5 separate regions of the Homo sapiens genome follow, and regions 2, 3, 4 and 5 are each linked to region 1. The links are contacts of gene promoters, found by promoter capture Hi-C in blood cells and fetal thymus (Javierre and others, 2016). All regions are on one chromosome and are shown on one strand. Each heading gives the region's core, a stretch centred on a gene start or on the middle of the fragment in contact. The rest is flanking DNA. Distances are from core to core; before and after follow the strand shown. Region 1 holds the start of CSHL1 (chorionic somatomammotropin hormone like 1). Region 2 overlaps ERN1 (endoplasmic reticulum to nucleus signaling 1). Region 3 overlaps ERN1 (endoplasmic reticulum to nucleus signaling 1). Region 4 overlaps ERN1 (endoplasmic reticulum to nucleus signaling 1). Region 5 overlaps ERN1 (endoplasmic reticulum to nucleus signaling 1).

Region 1 (2,565 bases), core at 27-2,526:
CAGCTACTTTTGTATTTCTAGAGAGTTGGTGTTTTGCCATGTTGGCTAGTCTGGCCTTGAACTCCTGACCTCAAGTGATCCACCCACCTCAGCCTCCCAAAGTGCTGGGATTACAGGCATGAGCCACCGTGCCCGGCCTGGAGAAAGGACTTTAAATGACACAAAGTGGGAAGAGCAAGGCTGTGGAGATCTGCTGCCCTGGCTGAGGTAGCTCATGCAATCAGTCTCTCTGAGCCTCAGTCTCCTGATATGTGAAATGGGATGATAATCATACCTCCTACACAAGACAAGTGGCAGGTCAGACGTGAGAATGCACAGGCAGGCCCTTCGCAACTGGATAGGCTCTATACAGGTGTGGAAAGGAGGAGGAGAAAAAAGAGGACGGGCTTCCATGGATGGATAGGGCATCTTTCGGCGTGATGTGTTTTGAGTTCCAAAGCTGGGGAAGAGATTCAAATCTTCAAGAGCTCTTCCAACTTTGAGATTCTCTGATGGTTTCAGGGCTATGGGAGGAAGCGCTTGTGGTCCGTGTCTGTTCCCGGGATTTCGGTTTCTTGGTTTGTGTCTCTGCTGCAGGTCCAGGGAGCTGGGGCAATACCTTGAGAGTCTGAGTTCTTCGTCCCCAGTGACCTGGGGGAGCCCCCCACCCAACCCCCTCCCTCCGCCCCGCCCCAAGGCTCAGGGAAAGGGGAGATCAAAGTGTGGGGTTGGTTCCCTCTAGTGGTCAGTGTTAGCACTGCATCCAGCTGACTCAGGTGGGCCCAGGAGTCGTCAGCAGAAGTGGAATTCAGGACTGAATCATGCTCACAACCCCCACAATCTATTGGCTGTGCTTGGCCCCTTTTCCCAACACACACATTCTGTCTGGTGGGTGGAGGTTAAACATGCGGGGAGGAGGAAAGGAATAGGATAGAGAGTGGGATGTGGTCGATAGGGGTCTCAAGGACTGGCTATCCTGACATCCTTCTCCGCATTCAGGTTGGCCACCATGGCCTGCTGCCAGAGGGCACCCACCTGAACCTTAAAGAGAGGACAAGTTGGGTGGTGTCTGTGGTTGACACTCTGTGCACAACCCTCACAACGCTGGTGACGGTGGGAAGGGAAAGATGACAAGCCAGGGGACATGATGCCAGCATGTGTGGGAGGAGCTTCCAAATTATCCATTAGCACAAGCCCGTCAGTGGCCCCATGCATAAATGTGCACAGAAACAGGTGGGGGCAACAGCGAGAGAGAAGGGGCCAGGGTATAAAAAGGGCCCACAAGAGACCAGCTCCAGCATCCCAAGGCCCGACTCCCCGCACCACTCAGGGTCCTGTGGACAGCTCACCTAGCGGCAATGGCTGCAGGTAAGCGCCCCTAAAATCCCTTTGGGCACAACGTGTCCTGAGGGGAGAGGCGGCGCCCTGCAGATGGGACGGGGGCACTAACCTCAGGTTTGGGGCTTCTGAATGTGAATATCGCCATCTAAGGCCAGATATTTGGCCAATCTCTGAATGTTCCTGGTCCCTGGAGGGATGGAGAGAGAGAAAAAGAAAACAGCTCCTGGAACAGGGAGAGTGCTGGCCTCTTGCTCTGCGGCTCCCTTCTTGCCCTCCGGTTTCTCCCCAGGCTCCCGGACGTCCCTGCTCCTGGCTTTTGCCCTGCTCTGCCTGCCCTGGCTTCAAGAGGCTGGTGCCGTCCAAACCGTTCCCTTATCCAGGCTTTTTAAAGAGGCTATGCTCCAAGCCCATCGCGCACACCAGCTGGCCATTGACACCTACCAGGAGTTTATAAGCTCTTGGGGAATGGGTGCGGGTCAGGGGTGGCAAGAAGGGGTGACTTTCCCCCACTGGGGAAGTAATGGGAGGAGACTAAGGAGCTCAGGGTTGTTTTCTGAAGCGAAAATGCAGGCAGATGAGCATAGGCTGAGCCAGGTTCCCAGAAGAGTAACAGTGGGAGCTGGTCTCCAGCATAGAAAGCAGTGGTCCTTCTTGGTGGGGGGTCCTTCCCCTAGGAAGAAGCCTATATCACAAAGGAACAGAAGTATTCATTCCTGCATGACTCCCAGACCTCCTTCTGCTTCTCAGACTCTATTCCGACATCCTCCAACATGGAGGAAACGCAGCAGAAATCCGTGAGTGGATGCTGTCTCCCCTAGGCGGGGATGGGGGAGACCTGTGGTCAGAGCCCCCGGGCAGCACAGCCACTGCCGGTCCTTCCCCTGCAGAACTTAGAGCTGCTCCACATCTCCCTGCTGCTCATCGAGTCGCGGCTGGAGCCCGTGCGGTTCCTCAGGAGTACCTTCACCAACAACCTGGTGTATGACACCTCGGACAGCGATGACTATCACCTCCTAAAGGACCTAGAGGAAGGCATCCAAATGCTGATGGGGGTGAGGGTGGCACCAGGGGTCCCCAATCCTGGAAGCCCACTGGCTTCGAGGGCTGGGGGAGAGAAACACTGCTGCCCTCTTTTCAGCAGTCAGGCGCTGACCCAAGAGAACTCACCTTATTCTTCATTTCCCCTCGTGAATCCTCCAGGCCTTTCTCTACACCCTGAAGGGGAAGGAGGAAAATGGATAAATG
Region 2 (2,565 bases), core at 49-2,548, 200 kb before region 1:
AAAGGGCAAAATGCTCTGGAAAAATAAAGTGTTAGATACCAGGGAGATTTGGCCATAGCTGGAAATGTTTAACTCTGCGAATACTTGGAGCCACTAATTATGTATACTTGTTTTATTCATAATTTGTAATGGTCTAGGATAGCAAAAGTAATGTGAATCATGGTTGAATTTAATAAAATGTTTTTAACCTCATCCTAAAATATCCACTGATCCATCTCATTCAATGGCAATATGCAGTGGTTAAGGGAACATAAAAACAAACATCCACACAGCTGCACAGTTCTCATGAAAGTCTATCTCATTATTGGTGGGGGTAGCACATTTAACAGCTTAAACATATAGGTCACTGCATGATGCCGCACTGGTAACTAGATAGCCAGGGAACCAACTAACCAGTAACTGTTAAAATATTTAAAATACAGCTTTTGTTTAGATCATCCTTTGGATCACCTTCTTGGGAAAAAAGCCTGCTAGTCACAGTGGAAATATATTAAGGCCCGATCTTCTGATATCCATTCCCAGAGGTTTCTTTCAGCTAGATTAAGCCTCCACCTCCAGAGCACACCCAAGTTTGTGATCTCCAGCATTGATGATCTCTTGTCTACCAGAGCAGACAGTGTGAGCCTCACACCAGGCCTCAGAGTCTGTGTGTAGCCCACTCCAATTAGACTAGAGTTGGTGACTTTTGCATTTACTGGTTTATGATAAAGGATACAGATGAAGAGACGCATAGGGCAAGGCATGCGGGAAGGGGCATGGAGATCTCATGCCCTTGGGGTATGCCCCACCCATCAGGAATCTCCATGTGTTCAGCTGTGCAGAAGCTTTTCCCAACAACTTTTTAAAGTTAATTAGCATTATCCCCATTTTATGGATGAGAAACTGAAGGCACAGAGAGGTAAGTGATTGCCTGAGGTGGTCTGGCTCCACAATCTACCTTTTTAACAACCACATTATACTGCTCAGGAACTACACTGAACTTAACAAGTATCTATTGAATCGTTTAGCCGCAGCATCATAGGTGAGTTTCCAAATGATGGAAATACAATCCCATAACTTAAAATATAGTAATGTTTACTGACAACCTCCTCAGCAGTTATACTCTGCTTCCTTCTTCTTCTTCTTTTTTTTTTTTTTTGAGACAGAGTCTCGGTCTGTCGCCCAAGCTGGAGTGCAATGGTGCAATCTCAGCTCACTGCGCTGTCCACCTCCTGGGTTCAAGTGATTCTCCTGCCTCACCCACTCGAGGAGCTGGGATTACAAGCATGTGCCACCGTGTCCGGCTAATTTTTGAGTATTTAATAGAGATGGGGTTTTACCACGTTGGCTAGGCTGGTCTTGAACTCCTGACCTCAAGTGATCTGCCCACCTTGGCATCCCAAAGTGCTGGGATTACAGGCATGAGCCACTGCTCCCGGCCACTGCTTCCTTCTTGAACACCACGAGCCAAACATATTTTAACTCTTCCTTAATTATTCCTGATTGTCTCCTAGCACCAGTTGTTACATTATTGCTGTCTGCCCATGAGGGTAAGAGATGAGGAGCAATGGAGGTAAGAGATGAGGAGCAGTGGATTATCAGGTTTTTGAGTTTGGTTTACTTCCTGATGATTTCTTTGGCTGCCACCAATTTTTTTTTAAATTAAATAGTCTCCCTTAATATTTGTATAACTCTTACTTTTGAAATTCTCAATATTTGTTTTGCTTTCTTAGTGTTTAGAGAGATGTTGCTATTCTTCAGTTTTTAAAAGAAAAAACAAATGTGGAAGCTTAGCCACCTTGCCCCACAATCCAGATGCCCAGGTCCACTTCTGGGACCTAGAGAAGATGGCAATAAGATTGGATGACCTGGCCGGGCGCGATGGCTCATGCCTGTAATCCCAGCACTTTGGGAGGCTGAGGTGGATGGATCACCTAAAGTCAGGAGTTTGAGACCAGCCTGGCTAACATGGTGAAACCTCGTTTCTACTAAAAATACAAAAAATTAGCTGGGCATGGTGGCATGTGCCTGTAATCCCAGCTACTCGGGAGGCTGAGGCAGGAGAATCGCTTGAACCCAGGAGGTGGAGGTTGCCGTGAGCCGAGATTGCGCCATTGCACTCCAGCTTAGACAACAAGAGTCAAACTCTGTCTCAAAAAAAAAAAAAAACATTGGATGACCTCCAGGCTAGGCGGAAGCCTGACCAGGGTAGTGACTTTAGAAAGAGAGATTCCTGGGAAAACTGAGAATGACAGCAGAGAATATCCTTTATAGGATCATTATAGCCATTCCACAATGTGTACATATATCAGAACATCATGTTGTATACCATAAGTATATATAAATTTTATATGTCAATGTAAAAAATAAAAACAAACTTTTAAAAAATATTTTATAATATGGTCCCTTGTCCATTCCTGCCTGGGACAGCCATTTTTCCCTTTTCACGAGGGAGTTCTTCCTTTGATGTCTGGAAAGGCCTCCTCTTTGAGCCCATAGGTTTGCTATCTTCTGGCTGGTAATTCTTTCCTGCTTCTGTTTCCTGCCGACCACTTGATAAGCTGGAGAAAGCAACGTTGTTCGCTC
Region 3 (2,565 bases), core at 25-2,524, 180 kb before region 1:
TCATTTCTGCAAGTAATGTCATCTGTATGCAACAAAACTGTGTCCTCTCCGTTACTTAGTCAAACATAAGAATTAACCTGTTTTCTCTTCTAACTTAGAGCTGAAAGAATTTGCCTCTTTTTAACTCAATTGAATGTGTATTTAGAGAACCTAGAATGTGAGAGATACTGTATAGCAGCAGTGCCCAACCTTTTTTGCATCAGGGACCAGTTTCGTGGAAGTTTTTCCATGGACCGGGGGAGCAGGGGCAGGGAATGTTTTGGGATGACTCAAGTGCATTACATTTATTGTGCACTTTATTTCTATAATTATTACTACATTGTAATGTAGAATGAAATAATTATACAACTCACCATAATGTAGAATCAGTAGGAGCCCTGAGCTTCTTTTCCTGCAACTAGACAGTCCCATCTGGGCGTGATGGGAAACAGTGACAGATCATCAGGCATTAGATTCTCATAAGAAACATGCCACACTACACTTGCATGCGTAGTACACAATAGGGTTCACACTCCTATGAAAATCTAATGCTGCCACTGATCTGACAGGAGGTGGAGCTTAGGCAGTAATGCCAGTGACAAGGAGCGGCTGTAAATACAGATGAAGCTTTGCTTGCTCACTCACTGCTCACCTCTTGCTGTGTGGCCCAGTTCCTAACAGGCCACAGACCCATCCACAGACCAGTATGGGTCCACAACCTGGGGGTTGGGGACCCCTGTTCTGTAGGACCCCAAAATGAAAAAGGCAGACCTTGTCCTCAAGAAGCCCATGATCTAAACCCATGGTGAAAATATGAGAACACAGGACTTCAACACAGCCGAGTCCTGTAACCACTCATGAGAGGGACTAGTAATGTGCTGTGAGCCCACATCCATTTGGAGGGCAGGAGGCTCTGTGAAGTGGGGTGTCAGAGGTAAACCCTGGTGAATGAATTGAGTTCAGTCAGGAGTGAGGCCTGGAGAAGAGCGAAGGAGGCAGCAGGTCTAGGGTGCAGGAGCTTATCCCGTTTAGCAGGAGCTTAGCGTTTCCAGGTAGAGGGAGGGAGGATTACAAGGGGATGTTGAGCCTTACTGGATGGAGCACTTAGGCATTTGTATCTGACTGAACAGGAAATTGGGAGCTGTTAATGTGATTGAACAGGTGAGTGACTCAACAGGTGCTCGCTTTTCGATGACTCTAGCAGCTGTGTGTGGGATGACTAGAAACAGGAAGCAGACCTGGAAAGGGAGGAGGGATGGGAAGGGTGAGAGGCAAGCCAGAAATAGAATCAGTAGAATCTAGTGACTGACTAGGGAGGAGGAGTTACAAGACACTTAAAGAAGAATTAGATAAATCCAATTAAGGTCTAATAATTTCTTTTCTTTTCTTTTCTTTTTTTGAGACAGAGTTTCCCTCTGTTGCCCAGGCTGGAGTGCAATGGTGCGATCTTGGCTCACTGAAACCTTTGCCTCTTAGGTTGAAGTGATTCTCATGCCTCAGCCTCTTGAGTAGCTTGGATTACAGGCATGCGCCACTATGCCTGGCTAATTTTTGTATTTTCAGTAGAGATGGAGTTTCACCATGTTGGCCAGGGTGGTCTCAAACTCCTGGCCTCAAGTGATCTGCCTCTCAAAGTGCTGGGATTAAAGATGTGAGCCACTGTGCCCAGCCTAATAATTTCCAGTAGTATTCATGATGATCTGTTTTTCTAAGAATAAACTGGCATGTTTTAGTTCAGCCCTGGATACCAGTGGCCTTGACTTATATTTCTATACAAAGATTAAAGATGGTAATGTGCAGATACCCTGAGTTTTCAGTTTAATCTTGTGGTTATAACTGAAGATTTCAACATTTTTCTAAATTGTTAAATATAGATAAATGATAAAGGTATCCAGATGCTACTCTAGGTCCTGAGGATACAGCAAGTGAACAAAACAGGCAAACCCTTTTATCATAAAGCTTTCATTCTAGTGGGAAAACAGGAAATCAGTTACTTAGTAGTGACGAGAGGTTTGAAGAAAAAATGAAGTGGGGACATGGAATGGGCAGTACCAGGTTGGGGTGGGAGTCTGCAGTTTTAAACAGGGAGGGCTCCACGGAGAAGGTGTCATTTGAGCAAGAGCTCAAGGAGGCAAGGGAGTCTTGTAGACAGCCGGCATAGCGGGTCAAAGGTGGAGTGTCCTTAAAAAAAAAAAAAAAAAGAAAGGATGGGAGTGTCCCTGGCACGGTAGAGGAGGAGCACAGAGTTGATGTGGCGGGAGGAGATCAGCTCAGAGAGAGATGGGCCAGTCATACAGGGCAGGAGGGACCCAGCGCTTCCTTTACTTCACATGTACTATAAAGTTGCTTACTGAAACAAAATTTATAGTCAGTAAACTACGTATACACAGTTTCAAAAAGAAATAAACATATTACCGAACTGGTAATCTAAAACAAATAATAGGAAAGTATTTTTTTAATCACATAGATATAGCATGTAAATGCTCGGACACACGCTGACACTCCCCCCAGGAACAAATGCTGTGCCTGTTGATGCAGATGGAGACAAGTGCAGGATAGTTTACCACCATAGCCACGGCAACTGGA
Region 4 (2,565 bases), core at 47-2,546, 150 kb before region 1:
GTGGATCGGGCCCATGCAGCCCCACGAGCCTTGCGTCTGGTGCCTCCCAAATGTCCTGATCCCTGTCATGCAAGGATACTTCTTCACTCCTCAGTAGGAGACTTGGAATACTGTATTCTGCCATGAAGTAATAAGGGTCCTGCTTTGATGGAATTTTCTGGTAACTGCCACTCATTTTCTCTAACTCACAGTCCTGCTGAGAGTTTGCATTGTGGACCCCTCAGTGGGTAGCACCTGTTGCCTAAGTTTAGCATTGAGTGCCACCACAGCTCGGGAAATTGTTCTCACTAAAGGTTTTGTTTCCTGTCATAGGACACCATGAAACCCCACTGTCTGCGTCTACCAAGATGCTGGAGAGATTTCCCAACAATCTACCCAAACATCGGGAAAATGTGATTCCTGCTGATTCAGAGAAAAAGAGCTTTGAGGAAGTGAGTGAGGAAGCGACCAGTCGGGGGTTGTTGGTGTTAGGTGTTGGGAGGGTGAGGCATTAGACTTTGACTCTGCCTTCTGAGCTTGCAGCCTAGTCTGGGAGGGAAGAGGAATGCACCAGAATCCAAAGCAAAAAACATAAATGGTTAAGGGCTAGTGGAGAGGAATAGGAAGCAACTTGTGAAAGAAGGTGCAGGAAAGGCAGCAGGACCAAGCTAGGCCTGGACCTGGATGAATGGGTAGGATTTGGCCAGGTGGAGGGAGCAAGAGGGCACAGGAGGGAATGGAACAGCAAGGGCAAAAGCCTGGAGTGGGAAGAATGCTGGTGTGCCCAGCTCACAGGCTGTGGGGAGAAAGGCCTGGCCAGACCCGAGGCTACTAAGTAGGGGGTAGTAGGAAATGGGCTCACATGGGTAAAAAGGAACCATGTTACAGGGCCTGAAACAAGCCCTGTGGAGGAGTTTAAGAGTTGTTGAAGGCTGGGTTGGGTGTCTCACACCTGTAATCCCAGTGCTTTGGGAGACCAAGGCAGGAGGATCGCTTGAGCCCAGGAGTTTGAGACCAGCCTGGGCAACATAGCAAGACCCTATTGCTAAAAAAAAAAAAAAAAAAAAAAAAATTGTTGAAGAAGTGATGAGATCTGAAGTTTTATGAAGCAGACAGAGAGTGGCCTGGGACTATTTGCACAGAGTTCCAGGGGCTCTCTTAGCACACCTTGGCCTAAAGCCAGAGGAGAGGGAGTAGAAAGGACTCTAGACCGGGAGCTGAAAGCATCAGTTGAGGAATTCAGCAGCCCCACAGAAGTCAACCTCTTTCTCTTACCTCTCTCTCTCATCTGCTGGTGTCCCCTGTTAGCTTTACCCAGTCAAAAACCCCAGGGGGTTGGGGAAGCCATTGCTTTGGCCCATACAGGTCAGCCTTCTGGGGCACAGAGCCGGTGGAGGAGGTGGAAGGGTGGCTCTGCAGGAGGGAACCCAACATGGCCAGGGAAGGGGAAGAGGGGACGTCTGAGGCTTAGTGACCGATTCAGGCCTGGCAGCTTCAGCAGCCCTGCCATGGAGGGCCCAGGGACAGAGATGCACCTGGGCTACATGAGTAGGGTCAGAAGAAGAAGAGAATGGCTGACTGATGCCGAGACCAAAAGCACAACAAACTCAGTTGAGAGATTTAGATTTTATCCAGAGACAAAGGAAATTGTAGACTTTCAAGATTCCAGGGCACAGTATCTGTTTACCATCATCTACGGAAGTAGCCAGGTTGGAGAAATACATTGATTCCTAAAACAGCAATCTTAAACAGCATTGTCCTATAATCTTATTAAAGTCCTGCATATTCATTATTGAACACTTAGAAAATAAACACATACAGAAGAAAATAAGACAGTGCCCTTAATTTAACACCCAGAGGTAGCCACGTGTCAAATCTTTGTATTTAACCATCTGGTCTTGGATAACGGTCTTTGAAAAAGTATGTTTTAAAATACTCTCAGGTGCATCTGTATGGTGATGAGACATACAGATGTCCCTGGCCACATGCCCAGGTGCTTCCTATATACTCTGCAGGCTACAAACCCCCAAAAATGTGGGAGGCACTGTGGGAGAGGCATGAATAAGAGGGGTACACCTGGAGGGGAGAGAAGAACATTCTAGGCAGCCATCTGGGGGGAGGGGTGAAATGGCGTGAGCGTGTGGGAGGTTTAGCATGTGGGAAATTCAGCATGTGCCAGGGAGGCTGTGTTAGTTTTGTTGGGCAAATGATAACGGCATACCTAGAATACTAGATATTTGAAAGTGAGTCAATGCATTTTTCTAAATGCCTGTTCCGTGAAGTCTTAGAGATTCTGAGGAACTCTAGGGAAGCTCCATTTTTATCTGATTTAATTTTGGGCTTCTAAATTTTCTTTAACAAACGCTTCTGATGCTTCTTAAAAACTTTGAAGAAATAGTGGACTACTGGAATAAATTATAATTTTGGGATTGCACTGACAGTTTACAGGCAACACGAGAAAACTGCTTTATTGCTTTCTAGCCATGTGCCTCTGTATACGTGCGGATTTCCTTTTAATGTGAAATGGTATTATTAAATCAAATACCAATTTTTCACCAGACTTTGTTACAGATGACTTCAGTGTTT
Region 5 (2,565 bases), core at 47-2,546, 130 kb before region 1:
AGTTCCCTTCCTTTCATCATAGCTAAAGTGACTTTTTTCCCTACTATTAACGTGATCCTACATCCTTAAATCTCATCGATTACCTCACTTAGGCCTTGGAACCTTGGCCCTTGGTCGGTGTCCTTGGCGTCTTCTAAGCAAGGCTGTGCGTTGTTCAGAAACGTGGCCAGACCGCATTTCCTGCTGCTCCCATGCCGCATGCCAGGTGGCCTGAGACAGAGCTCCCCATACGGCTGCAAGGTGCTTTACCTGTGGGCTTTGGCAGTAACCCAAGAGAGGATCAGAAGGTGGAGAAGGTGCCACGAGTGATTTAACAGGCCTGCCACAGGGAGTGCCCCCAGCCCAGCTCGTTCTCAGCACAGGTTTTCTCTTTGGGAGTACCCAGGTGATTTCTAGTGACCCAATTTTGTGTCATCTCCCTGTTTTAGCCCCACTTGCCTAGAGACAACTGTTTCCGATGCCTTTTCTGCTTATCATACTAGTTTCTAACCACGCAGATTTCTCAAAATCATTTATTCAATGTATTTTATTTGAGCACTTAGTGTATTGAGCTAGGCAGGATATAGGGTGCCGGAGATACAGCGATGAACAAGACAGGCAAAACTTCTGCTTTCCTAAAACTTGTGATGAGAGAGAACAATAAAAAAGTGTTGCTGCCACAAAGAAACCAAAGTGTGTGGGGAAGGGCGCGTGTTTGCGGTTTACATCTCTTCTGTCCCAGAATCACAGGGATCTGGTCCGGTCACCTCTGGTCTTTCCTCTTAGTCGCCTTTAGGAGCCCTGGTTCCCGTCCATCCTCTGGGGGGTTTGTTTGAAGAGATCTCGTGTGGGTACTTGTCATGAAAACACCTTGGGCATCATCTGGTGTATCCAGTTCTAGTCTCGAGAATTCTGGTTTCCCACTGTGCTCAGCAAGTGGAAAGTTCTTTTCAGGCCAGAACAGCTCTGCACCATCACATATCGTGTTGCGGCTTAGCTGTTTGGTCTGTAGTTCAGGTTATGGGACTTCTCCAATCCTGGAAGGCTGTTGAGCTTTTTAGAAGTACTGTACGCTATCTTCAAGATGGAGCTTGGTCACATCTGTTAGGAATCCAAAGGACACTATGACTTATTTAAATCTTGTCTTACTAAACCTCTCTTGGGCACGTGTGCCAGAATTTCTCTTGTTGCTTCTTGAGTCTTTTTAATTTCAGTGTTTTTTCGTTTGTTTTTTGTTTTTTTGAGACAGAGTCTCGCTCTGTCACCCAGGCTGGAGTGCAGTGGCACGACCTCAGCTCACTGCAACCTCCGCCTCCTTGGTTCAAGCAATTCTCCTGCCTCAGCCTCCCGAGTAGCTGGGATTACAGGTGTGTGCCACCACGCTCGGCTAATTTTTTATATTTTTTTTAGTAGAGACGGGGTTTCCCCATGTTAGGCAGGATGGTCTCGATCTCCTAACCTCGTGATCCGCCTGCCTCAGCCTCCCAAAGTGCTGGGATTACAGGCTTGAGCCACCGCACCCGGCCTAATCTCAGTTTTTGAAGTGCTCCACAAGTCATTAGGCACCAAAACATTTTCACCTGGGGAACACTGGCATTTCCCTGATTAGCTGTGAAGCAATCTAGTGGCTAAGTGTGAAATCCTGGGTGCGCAGGTGTTCTCACTCCCGCCGTGTTCTCAGTGCAGTGGTGGTCAGAGGCCCTTCCAAGGAGACATCACTCTGATCAGTTACAGATAGATGTTCTGGAAGATCTGCAGGTGAGTAGATCCAGCAGAGTTTCTTCCCACCAACTCTAGAAGAAAGGGCCTTATCAGAGTTGACCCTGAGCCTTTGGTAAGGTTTTGTGTGCATGCGATTCAGTTATCTTTGGCAATTCTTTTCTTGCTGCAGTGAGAGATTAATTGGTTGCTGATCAAACCGTTCATGCAGATGGGGGGACCTTTGGATTGTACGGCTTTCTCCTCTTGGCTGCTTTCTTTTCAGGAAGTTGGACTTTGGCCAGGTTTGGCTTTCCCAGAGCCGTTCCTTTCTCTGTCCTTTCCTTGGGTCCTCATGGTGTGCCCATTGGATCCTTGGCCTTGTGATCCTCTGGGAACTGGGGGCCAGTTCCACTTTTGCAGCCTTCTGTGCTGGAAGAGAAGCCCAGCGCCCTGGAAGGAGCCTCTTTAAGTCCCCCATGTCGCTTTCTCTCTCTGCTCTTTTAGTGTCTGAGATTGCCTTTCTTTGAATTTCCCAGTGTTTCTTTTCCTTGTCCCTTCCCTCACCAACCTGGAGTTATTTTGGTTGACTATGTCCTGGCTTTGGCTTCTCCTGGCAGGAAGTCATCAGGCATCCTCTCCAGGTGAGCCGAAATTCCACCCTCCCAGGTTGGACATCATCTTTTAAACCCAATGGTCTACTCCCCTCCTTCTTTATGAAACAGTGATTTCCCGTGAGTAACTCTGGTTCTGATTTTTTGTACCGGCGCTTAAATTCTTTCTGTAGACGTTGGAAAGCCACAAAGAACGTGACTGCAGTGAGCCTCCCACTGGAGCAGCCTTAACCAACACTTTGGCCAAAGCCCCCCCACCTCCCCTGTGTACTGT

Evidence for each region. The method cuts DNA at HindIII sites, captures the fragments that hold promoters and counts their contacts. A CHiCAGO score of 5 or more calls a contact.
Region 2: a contact is called between a fragment that was not itself captured here and the fragment with the promoter of CSHL1 in region 1, in 7 of 17 cell types (naive CD8 T cells, total CD4 T cells, naive CD4 T cells and 4 more). The highest score is 12.9, in naive CD8 T cells.
Region 3: a contact is called between a fragment that was not itself captured here and the fragment with the promoter of CSHL1 in region 1, in 6 of 17 cell types (naive CD8 T cells, total CD4 T cells, non-activated CD4 T cells and 3 more). The highest score is 8.8, in naive CD8 T cells.
Region 4: a contact is called between a fragment that was not itself captured here and the fragment with the promoter of CSHL1 in region 1, in 4 of 17 cell types (naive CD8 T cells, erythroblasts, total CD8 T cells and 1 more). The highest score is 6.3, in naive CD8 T cells.
Region 5: a fragment that was not itself captured here is called in contact with the fragment with the promoter of CSHL1 in region 1 in 13 of 17 cell types (naive CD8 T cells, total CD4 T cells, total CD8 T cells and 10 more); the score reaches 14.6 in naive CD8 T cells.

Annotation. Positions count from the first base shown.
Region 1 is chr17:63,909,969-63,912,533 of GRCh38, reverse strand. CSHL1 (chorionic somatomammotropin hormone like 1) reads left to right here and starts at 1,276. Exons shown (of 5, transcript NM_022579.3): 1 at 1,276-1,347; 2 at 1,610-1,789; 3 at 1,999-2,114; 4 at 2,208-2,372. The coding sequence starts at 1,338. LOC112268204 (a long non-coding RNA gene) reads right to left here and starts at 614. Exons shown (of 3, transcript XR_002958148.2): 1 at 275-614. The HindIII fragment of the contact is 23,854 bases long and covers 1-2,565 here.
Region 2 is chr17:64,110,941-64,113,505 of GRCh38, reverse strand. All of the region lies in intron 1 of ERN1 (endoplasmic reticulum to nucleus signaling 1), which reads left to right. Among named protein-coding and RNA genes, the nearest start is that of ERN1, 18 kb to the left of the region's middle. The HindIII fragment of the contact is 944 bases long and covers 827-1,770 here.
Region 3 is chr17:64,094,242-64,096,806 of GRCh38, reverse strand. The region is part of intron 2 of ERN1 (endoplasmic reticulum to nucleus signaling 1); the gene reads left to right. Among named protein-coding and RNA genes, the nearest start is that of ERN1, 35 kb to the left of the region's middle. The HindIII fragment of the contact is 1,332 bases long and covers 609-1,940 here.
Region 4 is chr17:64,058,335-64,060,899 of GRCh38, reverse strand. It overlaps ERN1 (endoplasmic reticulum to nucleus signaling 1), which reads left to right. Exons shown (of 22, transcript NM_001433.5): 11 at 313-431. Among named protein-coding and RNA genes, the nearest start is that of ICAM2, 39 kb to the right of the region's middle. The HindIII fragment of the contact is 9,403 bases long and covers 1-2,565 here.
Region 5 is chr17:64,039,804-64,042,368 of GRCh38, reverse strand. It overlaps ERN1 (endoplasmic reticulum to nucleus signaling 1), which reads left to right. Exons shown (of 22, transcript NM_001433.5): 22 at 1-2,565. Among named protein-coding and RNA genes, the nearest start is that of ICAM2, 20 kb to the right of the region's middle. The HindIII fragment of the contact is 3,607 bases long and covers 1-2,565 here.